Linked DNA regions of Homo sapiens: region 2 is linked to region 1. Evidence: promoter capture Hi-C in human tissues and cell types (Jung and others, 2019). All regions are on one chromosome and are shown on one strand. The core of a region is centred on a gene start or on the middle of the fragment in contact, and the rest is flanking DNA. Distances in the headings are between cores, read along the strand shown.

Region 1 (5,257 bases), core at 838-3,337:
CTGTCTCAAAAAAATAAATAAATAATAAAAGTGGGTCTTGTTTTTTGTTTTTTGTTTCGGGGTATTTTGGTTAGAGACAGAGTCTTACTCTGTCTTGACCGCCTGGGCTCAATTGATCCTGCTGCCTCAGCCTCCCAAGTAGCTGGGTCTGCAGGCATGTACCAGCACATCTGGCTGACTTTTTAATTTTTTGTAAAGACAGGGTCTCACTATGTTGTCCAGGCTGGCCTTGAACTCCTGGCCTTAAGCGGTCCTCCTGCCTTGGCCTCCTAAAGTGCTGAGATTACAGGCGTGAGCCACCACAAGTTAACACGTTATGCTGGGGAGGAGTTAGGGGAGAGATTTTCTTTGTAGAGACCTGTTACCTCGCTGTGAGTTCTCACCCCACTTCTTTCCCCTCAAGCCTGTGGGCATGAGACCATGGGGAAGATGAGTGGTGCTTTCCACCATAGGAGGCTCAGCCAGCCAGAGCCTGACTCCACCCCGCCATCGTGAGTGGGGCAGAAGGGGCTGCAATGGGATGGGCCACACCTCTGCTGAGGTGGGGCAAGGGATATTGGAGGTTTGCCCATGTAGACCCCACAGGATAAGTGGCAGAGGCAGGGGTGGGGGGTCATCTTGGGCCTTCATTAGAGGAGCACAGAGCCCAGGCAGCAATGATTGGGCAGTGAATGCCACATTCCTTGGGACTGAGGAAGGGTCACAAGGATGGGAACTGTGGGAGAGGAGTCCCAAATAAAGAGCATCTCCGAAGAACTCAGAAAATTGACTGTGAAAGAAGGAGGTTTAACCATCTGTCAGGCCTATAGAGCAAGAGGCTGTGGGCCAAGGGAGAAGTTCTCTGTTCCCCTGCCTTTTCCCCTCCCCAGCACAGAAGCCCAACAGACCCTCTTTTCACAAAGATGGGCCAGGACCCCAGACTTTGGGGGTACACGAGAGAGGAAACATCTTACCTTTTTTTTGTTCTTTGAGATGGAGTCTCACTCTGTCGCCCAGGCTGGAGTACAGTGACGCCATCTTGGCTCACTGCAAGCTCCGCCTCCTGGTTTCAAGCAATTCTCTTGCCTCAGCCTCCTGAGTAGCTGGAACTACGGGCGCGTGCCACCACGCCCGGATAATTTTTTGTATTTTTAGTAGGGACGGGGTGTTAGCCAGGATGGTCTCGATCTTCTGACCTCGTGACCCGCCTGCCTCAGCCTCCCAAAGTGTTGGGATTACAGGCATGAGCCACCGTGCCTGGCCTATTTATTTTTGAGACAGGGTCTCACTCTGTCACCCAGGCTGGAGTGCAGTGGCCCGATCTCGGCTCACTACAACCTCCGCCTCCCAGGTTCAAGCCATCCTCCTGCCTCAGCCTCCTGAGTAGCTGGGACTACAGGCACACACTACCACGCCCAGCTAATTTTTGTATTCTTTGTTTTAGTAGAGACGGGGTTTCACCATGTTGGCCAGGCTGGTCTCGAACTCCTGACCTCAGGTGATCCACCTGCCTCAGCCTTCCAAAGTGCTGGTATTACAGGCATGAGCCACCACACCCAGCCCCATCTTACCTTTGACTGAAGATGGGACTGCTGTCTCCTTGCTTCCACCTCCCACACTTGCTCCTGTGGCTCCAAACTTCAAACAGGATCTTTCTTTGCCTGGCCCACTCCTCCTCATCCTTTACTTAGAAGATTAGATCTTTTCCAGGGAATCTTCATTCCCACCACCCGGCTCTGGGCTCACTCCTCGGGTGCCCCTCTGGGCTCCCACATTACGGTTGCTTTCAGGTCCAGCTTCCGCATGTGGACTATGAAACTGTGAGGACAGCCAAGGGTCAGCATGTGCGAGGAAAGGCAGGGAAGAGGCTAGACGAGGCACTGGGGAGCAGGGAGGCCCAAGACCCTTAAATCCACAGACAGGAAGCCCTGGCTGAAGGGCCAAGTAACCAGGTGTTCTACTTCAATCTTGGCACCCACTGTATGCTTAGACCTTGACTCACACATGTTCAGCTTTAAGCCACTGCACAGATGAGCAAACGGGGCGGAGATTGCAGGCTGATCAGTTTGAAGAGCCAAGATCATCTAGCGTGACCTGTTGCCCAAGGCAGAGACAAGGCTGTGGGCTGGTCAGAAGCTGGTTACAATTCCTCCCGCCCCAGTACTTGCTGGCAGGGATTAAGAGCAGATAAAAGTGTGCTCACACACTGTAGACACGGCTACCATGCCATCCACAGTGTTGCCATCCACAGTGTTGCCATCACTCCTGCCCACAGCAGGAGCTGGCTGGAGCATGAGGTGGATTCTGTGCTGGAGCCTCACCCTCTGCCTGATGGCGCAGACGGCCTTGGGTAAGACCCCCACCCCTTCCCGAGAGTGTCAGGCAAGACGGGCACAAGGGATGGAGGGACAGGCCCCAGTTCAACCTCTCCTGGGGACAGCAGGGCAGGAGCACTTAGACAAGGCCTGGGCAAATGGAGGGTAGGGTTTCAGGACACTAAACCATCTACCAGCTGGGAGTCTGGACAAGTCCTTTAGCCTCCCTGAACCTCAGGGCTTCTCTGTATTTCCTGCCTCCCGGCACAGGTGAAGGGGTCTGAGAACATGGCCACATCTTTTCTTCCTTCCCACCTTTTTCCTTCCTTCCATCCTTCTTTCCTTCTCCTAAGCAGGAGGCCTGTCTCTGCCCCCTCTCTGCTACATGAACCTCTTTACCACCTTCAAATTTCTCCCCAATATCTTTCTTTTTAAAATGAGTACTACACTTTTTACTGTGAAAACAATCTAATACATTAACAAAAGTTTACTGAGGTATAAGATGTATACAGCAAGGTGCACACATCTTCACTGTATAATTATATCTATTATACTAATTATTATATATATATATATGGTAACCATTATCCAGATCAACATCTAGAACATTTCCAGTGGGTTAGGCATGGTAGCTCATGCCTGTAATTCCAGCACTTTGAGAGGCTGAGGTGGGAGGATTACTTGAGCCCAGGAGTTTGAGACCAGCCTGGGCAAATAGTGAGACCTAGCCTGGGTAAATAGACTCTGTCTCTATTTTTAAAAAACATTTTTTAAAAAGTTTTTTTAACTTACAAGGATACACCTGTAATCCCAGCACTTTGGGAGGCCGAAGCGGGCAGATCACCTGAGGTCAGGAGTTTGAGACCAGCCTAACCAATATTATTACCCCGTCTCTACTAAAAATACAAAACTAGCCAGGCATGGTGGCACATGCCTGTAATCCCAGCTACTCAGGAGGCTGAGGCAGGAGAATCGCTTGAAGCCAGGAGGCAGAGGTTGTAGTGAGCCGAGATCGTGCCATTGCACTCCAGCCTGGGCAACAAGAGCGAAACTCTATCTCAAAAAAAAAAACAAAAAACCATCTCCAGCGTCCCATGTACTCCTTCTCAGTCAATACTCAAAGTTACCACTAGTCTGACCTCTATCATAAATAAATTTTGCCCATATATACATATATCCATTATTTTAAATTTGAAGGAAACTTTGCTTACTCCGCTTTTAACATTTTGGCGCATTTTCTTTTCATCTTTTCTTTTTTTTTTTTTTTTTTTTTGAGACGGAGTCTCGCCCTGTCACCCAGACTGGTGTGCAATGGTGCCATCTCCGCTCACCGCAACCTCCACCTCCCGGGTTCAAGCAATTCTCCCCACCTCAGCCTCCCAAGTAGCTGGGACTACAGGCGTACACCACAAGCCCAGCTAATTTTTGTATTTTTTTAGTGGAGATGGGGTTTCGCCATGCTGGCCAGGCAGGTCTCGAAATTCTGACCTGAGATGATCCACCTGCCTCGGCCTCCCAAAGTGCTGGGACCGCAGGCATGAGCCACCATGCCCAACCTCTTTTCACCTTTTCATTGTGTATTTATCTATAGCTGTACTATTAGAATGTACACAATTTTAAGCCAAATGGGGTGGCTCATGTCTATAATCCCAGCATTTTGGGAGTCTGATGTGGGAGGATTGCTTAAGCTCAGGAGTTCAAGACCAGCCTGGGCAACATAACTAGAGCCCATCTGAACAAAAAATTTAAAAATTAGCCAAGCATGGTGTGGTGCATGCCTGCAGTCCCAACTGCTCGAGAGGCTGAAGTGAGAGGCTCACTTGAGTTTGGGAGGTGGAGGCTGTAGTGAGCTATGATCATGCCACTGCCTTCCAGCCTGGGCAACAGAGGGAGACCTTGTCTCAAAAAAAGAAAAAAATAAGGGAAAGAAAAGAAAAGAAAGAATGAATGAATAAACACAATTTTATATTCTGGGGTTTTTCTTTTTTTTTTTAATTTAAGTTATTACCAAAAGCAGTTTAAAGTTTGAGTCTGTAGTTACATTGGCCTTGCTTGGTCCCCAGATATAAATGATGCTTCCAGTATTCACTATGGTATAGATAAATTTAGTTCAGAAAGGTCTTTGTTTTCATGTGTTTCTGACTATTTTCACAGGGGAGAGACCCAGAAGTGGAATTACTGAGTGAAGGCATGTGAACTTTTCTTTTCTTTTCTTTTCTTTTCTTTTTTGGTTGTTGTTTTGTTTTTGAGATGGAGTCTCACTCTGTCTCCCAGGCTGGAGCACAGTGATGCGATCTTGGCTCACTGCAACCTCCACCTCCTGGGTTCAAGCAATTCTCCTATCTCAGCCTCCCGAGTAGCTGGGATTACAGGCACGCACCACCACGCCCAGCTAATTTTTGTATTTTTAGTAGAGACAGGGTTTCACCATGTTGGCCAGGCTGGTCTCGAACTCCTGACCTCCAGTGATCCACCTGCCTTGACCTCCCAAAGTGCTGGGATTACAGGCGTGAGCCACCACACCAGCTGGCAAGTGAACTTTTCATGGCTTTGTATACATTTCGCCAAATTATTTTCCCAAGGCATTGTATCAGTTTATCCTCCACCAACAGTATATGTGAATGTCCTTTTCACTGTATCTTCACCAGAATTAGATGCCATCACTTTTAAATTTATTAGGTCTAAGTTGTAACTCCTGGTTTTAGTTAGCACTTTATGACCACCAGTAAGGTGGAATATTGTTTTCATAGGTGCTTACATGCTGCCTCTGGGTAGCAGAGCTGGGATGGGGACCACTCCATGGCAGCTCATGCTCAGGGGTCTAGAGCACTCTGCTACATGGCTAGGTGCCCCTTGGAGGCTAGGGAGCCGACAGAAAAACATGGTTTAAGGCACTGCTCTGATGTAAGATACTTTTCTGTGTGACCTTGGCCAACTTATATAACCCCTTTGAGCTTCAGCTT
Region 2 (5,257 bases), core at 1,376-3,875, 100 kb after region 1:
CCCCAAGTGTGTTGGTCTGTATTCTGCATTAGGGACTGAGAAATATATAGATGAAAATGCATTGTTTCTGTCTTTGATCAGCTGTCAGTCTTGTGGGAAAATGATGGATAAACAGATCATTGCAGTGTACTTTAGCAACCACCATACATAATGGAGGTTCAAAAGGGACAGCAGCAGTGTAGAGGAAGCTTAAGTCTGCCTCTGCTTGGGAAATTCACAGGGTAGTATACTTAGAGGGATTTGAAGGAAGAGTGTGTTTTGCCAGCTGTTCAAGTTGGAGAAAGCATTCTGGGCAGGACAAACAGTGTATGCAAAGGCATGGAGGAGTAAGGAGGAGTAAGAGAGCCTGCCAAGTCAAGAGAGTGTGATTGGTCAGTATTTCTGGAGCAAGCTAACATGGCTTTAAATGAATATAGGAATCATTTTCTAAAAAGTGCTCTTCAGCTACATTATATTTGGAGATTAACTATTTGACAATTAATGGAACAACTGTTGAAAGCTTTTGTATGTATTTTGCTTTACATAAAACTCTAGATTAATTGACTAAGAATTTTCTATTCTAAATTGTGGTGGCTCACACCTTTAATCTCAGCACCTTGGGAGGCTGAGGGAGGATTGCTTGAGCCCAGGAGTTCAAGACCAGCCTGGGCAACACAGCAAGACTTTGTCTCTACAAAAAATTTAAAAACTAGCTAGGCATGGTAGCATGTGCCTGTGTTCCCAGCTACTTGGGAGGCTAGGTGGGAGGATCGCTTGAGCCCAGGAGGTCAAGGCTGTAGTGAACTATGATTGTGACACTGCACTCCAGCCTGGGCAACAGAGCAAGACCCTGTCTCCCTGACCCCACAAAAAGAAATAAATACATTGTTAATTTGATTTTTCTAATTTAAAATGTTGGAAGAATATTTTGGTATGTGAGTTTATATGTATATATGAACAGAAATATAGTCTGTTGATAGAAGTGTCACATAATTTGTTGCTCAGATAGATTGTTTCTACTTGTTTTTTTGTCAGTGATTGAGAGCATGGGCTTTGTAGTCAGGCCTAGTTGAGATTCCTGCTCCGTCACTTGCCTCAAGAGCCCTAATTTTCTCACAGAATTTGAGTATTAAATGGGAAAATGCTTGTAAAGCACTTAGTATGATGCTTGGTATGTGTATGCCTACAGTAAATAATAGCTCTGAAGTACTTCTTTTTAGCACTAAAAGCTCCACCATAATGCTGGTTCCAGTTAATTGAATTATTTGGCTAACAAGAACATCCTTTTAGTTCTCTGAAGTGTATCAAGGCACTTTCCCTACATTATGACCTAGAGCATAGAGAAAAGAGTTATATTTTCATCAATGATTTAAGATCCTGTAGTCCCTTATGGCAGTAATTTAAAACATCAGTTCTTGTAGAGAACTGTCATCTGGAAAATTGGGCTGGAATCTGACTCCAGCACATGCACTGGCAATCACATAGGGGAGTTTGGGGTTTGTGTGTCTTTTGGCACTTAGCGTGTATATATTTTGCTTCTTTGTCTTTTTTTTCCATCCATAAAAAATTCCTAATGTCACCTTATTTTCTTGCAGTTTACCTTCTTTTTCCTAAAAAGAGAATATTGGAGAAAAATGTTGTTTCCCCTCTGTGATTCAGATTATCTTTAGAGATTCAAACATCATCTAATCTAACATTATTACAGTTGATAAAACTGAGAGTCTCCAAAAAATTAATTGACTTGCTCTCCCTCAAATATTTGGTTAATGGAAGAAACAGTGAGTATTTAAACCAGTTTCCTAACCAGGAGGCCTGCACAAATACAGCTTAGCGCTGGGAAATTAATTTCCACACCACCCGTAAAGATGCTTAAGCTGAAAAATAAAATCTGCCAGGAGAGATTAAGAACCGTTTTGCCTGGAATAGAAAAGGCTGAGGCAGAAAAGAAAAATAATGGTTCTAGTGGGTGGTCCTGATGCCTGACTGGAGAGGAGGGCCAGAGAACAGTGGTAACTCATGGGTGGCAGCAAGTCAGTAAACGGCCTGTGGAAGCTTGAGATCCTAGCAGCACAGAGGTTTAGGGATGTCCTCCACTGTTTGGATAACTTCTGAGGCCTCCAGCCCTGCCATGCTAAACTTGTAACAGTGGTGCTCGTGAGTATTTAATCTATGTGTAAGGTTAAGATTACTAAGGGGGGAAGCAGAACTCCAAGTGGTTGGTGGCCCAAGGGGTTTTGATTTTCAACAGTGTCTTTTAACCTGAAACTAGTTATAAAATTCCTTGAGCATTCTTCCATTTCACCATGTGTAAAATTTAGAAAGTTTTCGATCCTTCATGATAGGATTTAGTGTTTTCTTTTTCTCATTTTTCTGGAACAGCCTATTTCAGTAGTACAATATTTTCTTTACCTTTCAGAGGTAATGGCAGATTATCATTAACTTGAAATGAGAAACTATAGTGAAATGAAGAAGCATTGTTTATGTTAGTAACCTTTACCAAATACTCTTGTCATTGATATACATTAAAATGATATACATAAGGTACACAGTACTGTGTATAATATCTTACTCTCTGGGTATTTTTCCTACTCTGTGGGTAATTTTTGTTTAAATGTGCATAGTCATTCTCTAGTAGAATATCTAAGAAACTGGAACTAGAAACTATGGGGGAGAACCAGGTACCTGGGGGACAAAATAAGCAAATTATTATTTTTCACTGTGTATCTTCTGTACCTTATGAATTTTGTATCATTAATTATTTAGAAAAAAATAAAATTTGCTTTCAGTATTACACAGAATAATGAAAACAGAAGATTCTAGACCTTGCTATCTCTATTCTCTGGCATATAGGCTGTTTTTTATGTGAAACCCTTCCTCCATTTGAAATTGTATACAGAGCCCCACTGTATAAAACAGTTTTTTTAAAAGGCACTGCTCTGGGCAAAGCCAGGGTAGGGATTGTTCTGGTCTCCCTCTGGTGTCCCTGGGGGTGTTTTTACGGAACCCAGTGGGTGGCAGAACATAATGAGGACTCTGGATGTAGTGGAATGAGCACAAGGTTTTGCATCCCGGCTCCACTACTTGTTGCCATATAGCATTGAGAAAGTTGCTTATTCTCATTGAGCCTCATCAGTAAAAACTCCCTCCCAGGTTGTTGCAGAGCTCAGTATCTGAGGCTTAGAATGGGGACTCAGTGGAAGCCAGTTTCTTTACCCCTTCTTTCTGTGTACTTGGCTCACAATATATCTGGAGTGGCAGGAAAACAGTAAAAGTAGTCATATCCTAACTTTAGACTATGAAAGTCGAAGATACTATTTTGCCAAGCCATTTTAGATTCTGGTGTTTTTTGTTTGGTTGGTTGGTTTGGTTTTTTAAAACAACCAGTAAAGGATTTTGGACTTTTCTTGGCTCTGTTGGAGGCTACCAGTTACTGTGGGGATTGAGTAGTGACTAGAAGTGGGTATGAAGAGAACTTCCCATGTTCTGGTAATGTTAGTTCTTGACCTGGGTGCTAGTTAGGTGGGTGTGTTCGCTTTGTGAAAATTCTTCATTACATACTTAACAATTTGGGCACTATTCTGTACTTGTATAAAAAGAAGGCTTTTAAAAATAAAAAATAATCACAGACGTTACTTTTGTGAAATGCTCTCCATTGGCATCTGTTGCTATATAGAAGCATCCTAGCACCTTTTCTGTCTGAGAATCCTTCCTTGATCTGAAAATGTTGACATGTTTCCCATGACCTTTCTTTTTGGGGTATATATGTCTATAACTAATTCAAATGTCTTTTGTGAAGGAAGATGGAGGTTAATAAAGGACAGATTTCATGCTCTGATCATAGTTGAGTTAGAAAGATAGCAACTTGTACACTAGTCTCTGTTTCCAGAGACTGCCTTCAACTTGATTGGCCTTTTGACCTAAAACTGTAATATAGCACTCTTGGCTTTTAACTCAGCTCCAAGGTGACAGGGTGCTTAAAGATATTTTCTCTATTATCTTAAAAATGCCTACATTTGGTTAGATTATAAAGTGGCAGCAAATAAATGGTTGTCTTTAATGTCAGAGAATGGGTAAATTATTGTTTATCCTACTATGAGCAATTTTAATACAATTCAAATCATAGAATTTTATGTGGAAACTATTTGGAAATAAAAACAGGCAAAAAGTTTTATGTGGTTTTTGTATTTGTATTTTGCATAGTTTTGGGGCCTTCAATTCTGTGTGGTCCAAGAAAAAAATCTCAGCCTCTATTTATTTTAAATTTCCGAAGACTTCAGTTTTCAAATTATTTAACTCTACCAATATTCTTTCTTGTGTATGGATAAATCAGCATGAGAATATGTCTGTGCTAGGCCTTCCTGGGTTGTGTTTTGGGTAATGGCAGTAGATGAGAATGAACTGGGAGTATGAACTCAGACTGAGAATGAGAATCGGAAGAAGATTAATGAAGGAGGAAAAGGATACGAAATCTGACTTCCCCCACTACCAGAGGAAGAGAGTCTTGGTTCTCTATCAGAGGAGCAATAGACTTTATTAAGATTTATTTTTGTTTTAGCCTTGTTTTAGTTTCTAAAAATTATTCTATCTGCAGGATATGGATTTTTCAACATTTGAATAGTTATTTGAAAAGTTCATAAATGGAAATGGGAAGTGATGAACAGCTTTGTTATAATAACAGCATCATGAGTGCATCCTATGTGCCAGGCAGTGTACATTATAATTTTGGCTTTATATTTGATCTTTAAATGCTCTTGTAAGTTACCTCTTCATTTTGAGGAACCGAGGCTAAGAGAGGATAAGAAACTTGCCTAAGGTGACATAGCTGAAGTGGTAGGGCCATCATGGTCCAAGCCCAGAAATGCAGATTATTCCCACTATTTCATTTTAAAATGTTACTTTATATTTGAAGTTTTCCTTAGGTTGCATACTTTGTAAGAACTATATTTTTTGACATGCCTGTTGGAACAGCTCTCGCAGTCTGCTTATCTGACAGATGTTTATAATTGTCTGCTGACTTTTTTTTACCCTTTTTAAAATTTTTTTTTAATTTTACTTTAAGTTCTGTGATACATGCGCAGAATGTGCAGGTTTGTTACATAGGTATACCTGTGCCATGGTGGTTTGCTGCATCTATCAACCCATCATCTAGGTTTTGTTGTTGTTGTTGTTTGTTTGTTTGTTTGTTTGTTTTTTGAGGCAGAGTTTCGCCTTTGTTGCCCAGGCTGGAGTGCAATTGCACGATCTCGGCTCACCACAACCTCCACCTCCCGGGTTCAAG

What was found. The method cuts DNA at HindIII sites, captures the fragments that hold promoters and counts their contacts. A contact is called where the count stands out against the background at its distance.
Region 2: a fragment that was not itself captured here is called in contact with the fragment with the promoter of CES4A in region 1 in 5 of the 25 tissues and cell types used here (aorta, dorsolateral prefrontal cortex, lymphoblastoid cells and 2 more).

Annotation. Positions count from the first base shown.
Region 1 is chr16:66,986,502-66,991,758 of GRCh38, forward strand. It overlaps CES4A (carboxylesterase 4A), which reads left to right and starts at 2,088. Exons shown (of 14, transcript NM_001364782.1): 1 at 2,088-2,329. The coding sequence starts at 2,272. RefSeq lists a silencer at 5,125-5,257. The HindIII fragment of the contact is 42,626 bases long and covers 1-5,257 here.
Region 2 is chr16:67,086,719-67,091,975 of GRCh38, forward strand. All of the region lies in intron 5 of CBFB (core-binding factor subunit beta), which reads left to right. Among named protein-coding and RNA genes, the nearest start is that of PHAF1, 21 kb to the right of the region's middle. The HindIII fragment of the contact is 5,567 bases long and covers 1-5,257 here.